Regions from separate parts of the Homo sapiens genome. Here region 1 is linked to region 2. Evidence: promoter capture Hi-C in 16 types of primary human blood cells and fetal thymus (Javierre and others, 2016). All regions are on one chromosome and are shown on one strand. The core of a region is centred on a gene start or on the middle of the fragment in contact, and the rest is flanking DNA. Distances in the headings are between cores, read along the strand shown.

Region 1 (2,766 bases), core at 95-2,594, 240 kb after region 2:
CCTCCCTCCATTCAGGAGCCCAGCTCTTCTTTTTCTTTTCGCTCCCTCAAACCTGTCGCAAGCAGCCCGAGTCTGTGCACAAGTCTTTGTGTGTGTGGTGTGTATGTGTGTGTGCATATGTTTTGGGGGAGAGGTAAGGAAAAGAAAAAAGAACTTTTCCTCCATGCAAGTAGGAAAAAAAAGATAATTAATAATGAACTGAACATCATAATCGGCTTCTCCATCACAAGCTAATGGGCTGCATCTCTTCTGACTCTCTTTGTGTATTCATTGGAGGAGCTCTAAATTCACAGGACAATGAAGACAAACAAGGAAATAATAGACTATAGACAGTGACGAGGAAACCAGGGAACCTGTCTCAATGTGGTCATGCTGAACTATTTTCAGAGCTTAAACGGACTGACAAAAAAATACACCTATATCAATGAGTACACCTCATAGCCCTACTCTATCTGGCCACACTTCGTTCTCCTTCTCACTTCTCATTTTTCTGCCCATTGCCCTGCTGCTATACATTTTTGTCTCTGTCTCTTTGATTCGGTGAGCTCATCTCCCTTTGATTTATCTTGTCTCCTGTGTTGCTTTTTCTGTTTCCATCAATGATGTTCTGTTCTCCTTTATTTCTATGTTTATCTATTTTGCTTCTGTCTTTCTAGGTATTTTGTATATTATATAGCTGGTTCCATTCCTATTATCTCTGTCTGTTTGCGATTTTTATTTTTCCCTCCCCCTAAAGATTATATGTATTAACCAATATACATATATACACACACATATGTGTGTGTTTATGTATGTATACATGTTATATGTAACAAATATATGCATGTGTACACACACACACACACACAGTGGTTGTTAAATAAGCTTTCTTGCATCAGGCACTGGTATAGTCTCCTGTGAATATTCTGAGTTCCTTGCGCATCTTCTTTGGACTTTGACTTAAATGACACAGCTCTTATCCTCCTGTCTGTTACATACAACAGTCACCCACCGTGAGACACCTGGGTTGCTAGTTTCTATTGTTTCTTTAGTTTTTTGGCCCTAATACTTCTGTACATCTATTTCCTCACCCCAAAATGGGTATAGTTAGCCTGCCTATGTCTTAAAAATTTTGTGATGACAAAATAAGATATTATTTGCCAAAAGACATTGAAATAACACAATATAATCCAATTACATGATGAAGGACATCTACCAAAAACTATACTAACGTTTGAGAGTGTTTGATCTGAAGTTTTTATTTCTGTCTATAATTACATAGTAGGAACAGTTGTCTTTTGAGGCTTTACAATTACAAATGACAATGATGTCAACCCATTTATCACTATAAAAATCTAAGATCTTAGTGTTAATAGGAATGAGAGCAGGTTTAAAAAAAAGAATACCACAAATTTGCTATTTATTTCTTCTACAACAACAAAATATAATTACATACATTTAGTCAGTGAAACTCTTTCTGTTAAACATGAGTTTATCATAATTTCCTGCCTCTTTCCATTTTCTAAAATGCAAAAAGGAGTTCCCAGATGAACTGGATACAAGGTAGTGAAGGTGCTCAGAATAAAAAGCGTCTGGAAACAGCAGCTTTTAATTCACATTCCTGACATTCTGCAGGCCAAGTCTTGGCATCCTAATCTTCTTTACCTGACCCTCTTCTTAGGGATGAGCTGCAGGTTTCCTGAAGCTCTTCTCCATTACTCAGGTCTGAAAAGTCACTACTGCTGAAACCTGCAGAAAAAAATAAAATTCCTTAACAGTCTTAGTCTGAGTCTTAGGAATCAGCAGGGAATTCTTTAAAAGCAAAACTGAACAAGAGAAGCTTGTGGAGGAGGGGGAGAAATAGTCCCACCACTAGGCCACCCTTTGGCTTTGATCATCTGACCTGTTGGTCAAGATTGCTCCAGGAGCCCTCTCTGAGGCTGGGGCTGGGGATGACATTGTTTCTTCTTCTTTTTTTTTTTTAACTTTGGGAAAAATATGTATTTATTATAAATCATCCATTTCATTGGGTGGTTTCAAATTAAGAAAGCAATATATGCTTGTCATAAGAAGACCAATGAATGCAAATGTATATAACCCCAAAGCTCTCTTTTCCTACCCTATTCTGTCTCTGGTCTCCCAGCTAGTGAAGTCAACAGATCAGTGTGGATCCTTCCATCGTTTTCTCCTATCTCATTCATGCATAATCAAATAAAAGGAACATACATAATGTTCAATCTTTTCTGAATACAATCCTAGGACAACGTTGTTTCTTACGCTTCTTAGGCTTTCATTATTAGTTTGCACATACTTCTGCTTCCATCTCAGTTTCTTATCCAAGGGAACCATGGAAGCAACATCTTAAAGATGTCAGAGCCCCCATCAGCTGGGCCCTGAATGACTGTGTGGGCACCCCCTCTACTCAGGAACTACTTTATCCTATTTATGTGAGTGAAAAATAAACTTATGTTGCACTTGTGCCTTTGAACATTTTGAGGCTTATGTTTTATACCAGCCCAACTCATCTAATTGAAAATGTAAAATGCAAATCATCTAAAATCCCAACAAATTAATTTTTTATTTTAAAGGATATAACATAAAAAGTGAATGTAGCTTTTGCAGCAAATAAAGACATTTGTTACATCAAGAGTTTTTAATTGCTCTTACGTCTCTTCCTGCTGGGTATTCTCCAAGTAGATGTACTTCTAGAAGTCATAGGAGCTAGAAAGTAAAGGAAAACCAAATCAATAATATCTAACTAAAAGATCTATAAATCTTATGACTGCT
Region 2 (3,102 bases), core at 285-2,784:
CTGTCAAAATCGATCTGAAACTGCATTACATTCAAGGCACAGAATGTCAACTCCTGACTGGGCCTCCTCCTCTCTCCTTTCACAAGAGCGCCTTTAATATCCCCTAGCCTACATTTCCGGGCTCATGAGTCACTGAGAAATGAGCTCTAAGTTTCTCTTAGAATGCTGCTCAAATAGCTCCTCTACAGCATTCAAGGATCTGGCCCCAAAATACCTCTTTAGCCCAATACCCCCCGCCCCCTGCACCATGCCAACAAACGGAATTATCCATGATTTCTAGGCTTTGTCTTCTCGCTTTTGCTACCCCTTCCACACACCTCTTCTGCAATCCTCCTCTCCTAAATCCCATCAGGCCTTCAAGACTCTGCTCAGCATCCCCCGCCCAGGAAGCCTTCCAGGTTTCTGCGAGGCAGAAGTGATCGGTTCGGTTTTTCCGGGTGCCGTTCTAGCACTCCGTCGTTCTTTCACAGGACTTATCACCTCCTTCCCGGTATCGCAGTTATTTGTGTTCTCGTCTTATCTCTCACACCAGAGCCTAAGCTCCTCGGGGGAGGGGACCGGGGCCCGCTTCACCTTTGAATCCCTCCGGTGCGGGCCGACTACGGCGCCTGCACGCAGTCTGCGCTTGGGGTGGTTCCATTGAACTCCAGAACGCTCCGACCGCCCAATTCCTAACCAGAAATCAGTTAGGCATTTTCCTGAATTGGTCACAAAGCTGGTATCTGCCTCCCGACAACAGGAAGTTTACCAGGGGCGGGAGCGAGGCGCTGAAGCCCGGGTGCAGCCGGTGACAGTTGACCCGGCCCGCACTTCCCCGCCCGCCCGACTCCGGCCCGGACCACCACGCGCCGCCAGCCCCGCCAGAGAACCACGGGGGGAGAGGCAGGAGCGCCTGGACTGCAGGCCCCCGGGCGCCCCACGCCGGCGAAGGCAAAGGGAGCGTCTCAGCGAGGGACCGGAGCCGAGCCGGGCGGAGAGGGCAGGCTGGGCCCGGCTGCTCCCGGGGGCTCCGGGGACAAGCTGGGCCGGGGCCGCCGCCACCCAGGAAAATGGAGGCAGCCCCGGGGCCGGTGAGGGCCCAGCGGGGCAGGCGGAAGCCGGGCAGGCGTCCGCACCACGAGCAGGGCCGGCCGGGGGTCACTCACGGGGCTGGGCCGGGCGTTCCCTTCTCTGCCTCCGCGTCGTCGCTGTCCCCGTCCTCGGCCGCCGCCGCTTCGGGCTGCTCGTTCGGTCCCCGCGGAGTGGCTCGGACGCTCGGCCCCTCCGTTGTCTTCCGCCCGCTCCTGCTCCCGGCGACGGGCTCCCGCGGCGGCGGCGGCTGCGCGGGCGGACGGCTGCCCAGGGGCTCCCGCGGCTGCCGCCGCGCTGCTGCGCTCGCTTGGGCTGCGGCTGCTGCTGTGGGGCCCGGCGCCGCCTTAGTCTTCGCCTGTGCCCCCGCCCCGGCGCCTGAAGGCTCTGTGTCTCCCAGGCCGCGCCGCTCCCCGAACCCCTCGCCCCGCTTGCGGCCCGAGCCCGGCTTTGACGTGCGCACTGCGCAGCCGCCGAGGACGCGACGTCGGGCGGTGCCGCAACGCCCCCTTCCGCCTCGGGCGCCCCCGAGCGGCCGGCGGACTCAGGGCGCCGCAAGTAGGCGCGAGGCCCGAGCGGGAGGGGCCGCAGAGAAAAGCAGAAGCCAAGCCCCGCAGTTCCTCTTCCTCCGCCGCAGCTTCCAAGGCGGGGCTCAGCCCTTTCTCCTCCGCCTGAGCGCTCTTACTGCGGGAATCGCACGCCCACTTTCAACGACCACTTCCTCAACTCTTCAAGCTTAATTCTGCGAGAGGCCGGGATCCCACTTTGTGCAGACCGATTCTTACTTTCTTGGAGCAGATCGCTTCATTTTAGCATCCAGGGGGACACAGCATCCAGGGGGACAAGTGCCAGAACGTTCCAGATTAATGGGAATATTCCTATTTAAATCAGCAACCTGGATTTAAGTCCTGCTCCACCATTTGCTATCTATGGGCTGTTTCACGTCCCTGTGCCTGGATTTCCTCACACATTAAAAAAAAAAGTGTGTAATAATATAGTGGTACCAGCCACGGGCTTCTGAGGATGAACGGGACAGTGCATTGCAAAGCTCTGACAACGGAGCCTGGCACATACAAATGCCATATGTGTGTATTTTTGTTTCTTTGTTTTTAATGTGTAACTGAACTACTTTTTAAGCGCCTCCTGTACGTCAGGGATGGGGCAGTGAGCGAAACAGTCCATGCTCCTAGCACAAACAGTTGACAAATAATTGACTAATAAACCTACAGGTATGTATAATACTGGACAATTGGGCCAGGCGCGGTGGCTCACGCCTGTAATCCCAGCACTTTGGGAGGCCGAGGTGGGCGGATCACGAGGTCAGGAGTTCAAGACCAGCCTGGCCAACACCGTGAAACCCCATCTCTACTAAAAATACAAAAAACAATTAGCCGGGCGTGGTGGCGGGCGTCTGTATTCCCAGGTACTTAGGAGGCTGAGGCAGGAGAATCGCTTGAACCCGGGAGGCGGAGGTTACAGTGAGCCGAGATCGCGCCACTGCACTCCAGCCTGGGCGACGCAGCGAGACTATCTCCAAAAAACAAAAACAAAACAAACAAAAAACAACAACAAAAAAACAAATACTGGACAGTTAAAAACACCACTGGGTGAGGAGGGGAGAGAAAGCAGGGTGTTGTTATTTACAGTGTTCATTCAGGGAGCAGCTTCCTGGAGAGAGAGAGCCTGGGAGCTTTCTGTATGGAAAGGCAGAGGGAATAGCAGGACCAAGGCCCTGAGGCGAGAATCTGCTGGCTTGAAAGCGGCCCCAGATAGGGGAAGAGATGAGGAAGAAGTGCGGCCCTACCAACCAAAGTTAGGACTTCCTGTTTTTACTCTCAAGGAGATGGGAAGCAATTTGAAGGGTTGCGAGCAGAGAAAGGACGTGGAATGACATTTCAGGAGGATCCCTGTGGCTGTGGTATGAGGACCAGACTGAAAGCCCTGAGGGTTTCAGCAGGGGGACCAGCGAGAAGCCTGTTGAAATCAGCCAGCCAAAAGATAAGACTGTCCGGCCGGGCGTGGTGGCTCGCACCT

What was found. Contacts are between HindIII fragments. The CHiCAGO score rates a contact against its expected background, and 5 or more counts as called.
Region 1: a contact is called between a fragment that was not itself captured here and the fragment with the promoter of CAB39 in region 2, in 1 of 17 cell types (activated CD4 T cells). The highest score is 5.0, in activated CD4 T cells.

What each region holds. Positions count from the first base shown.
Region 1 is chr2:230,468,977-230,471,742 of GRCh38, reverse strand. It overlaps SP100 (SP100 nuclear antigen), which reads right to left. Exons shown (of 29, transcript NM_001080391.2): 14 at 2,647-2,700; 15 at 1,645-1,728. The region is part of intron 3 of LOC101928816 (a long non-coding RNA gene); the gene reads left to right. Among named protein-coding and RNA genes, the nearest start is that of SP100, 54 kb to the right of the region's middle. The HindIII fragment of the contact is 955 bases long and covers 867-1,821 here.
Region 2 is chr2:230,711,274-230,714,375 of GRCh38, reverse strand. It overlaps CAB39 (calcium binding protein 39), which reads right to left and starts at 1,534. Exons shown (of 9, transcript NM_016289.4): 1 at 1,146-1,534. It overlaps LOC124907996 (formin-like protein 16), which reads left to right and starts at 1,050. Exons shown (of 4, transcript XM_047446832.1): 1 at 1,050-2,297. The coding sequence starts at 1,050. The coding sequence ends at 1,808. RefSeq lists a silencer at 823-1,762. The HindIII fragment of the contact is 1,861 bases long and covers 1-1,805 here.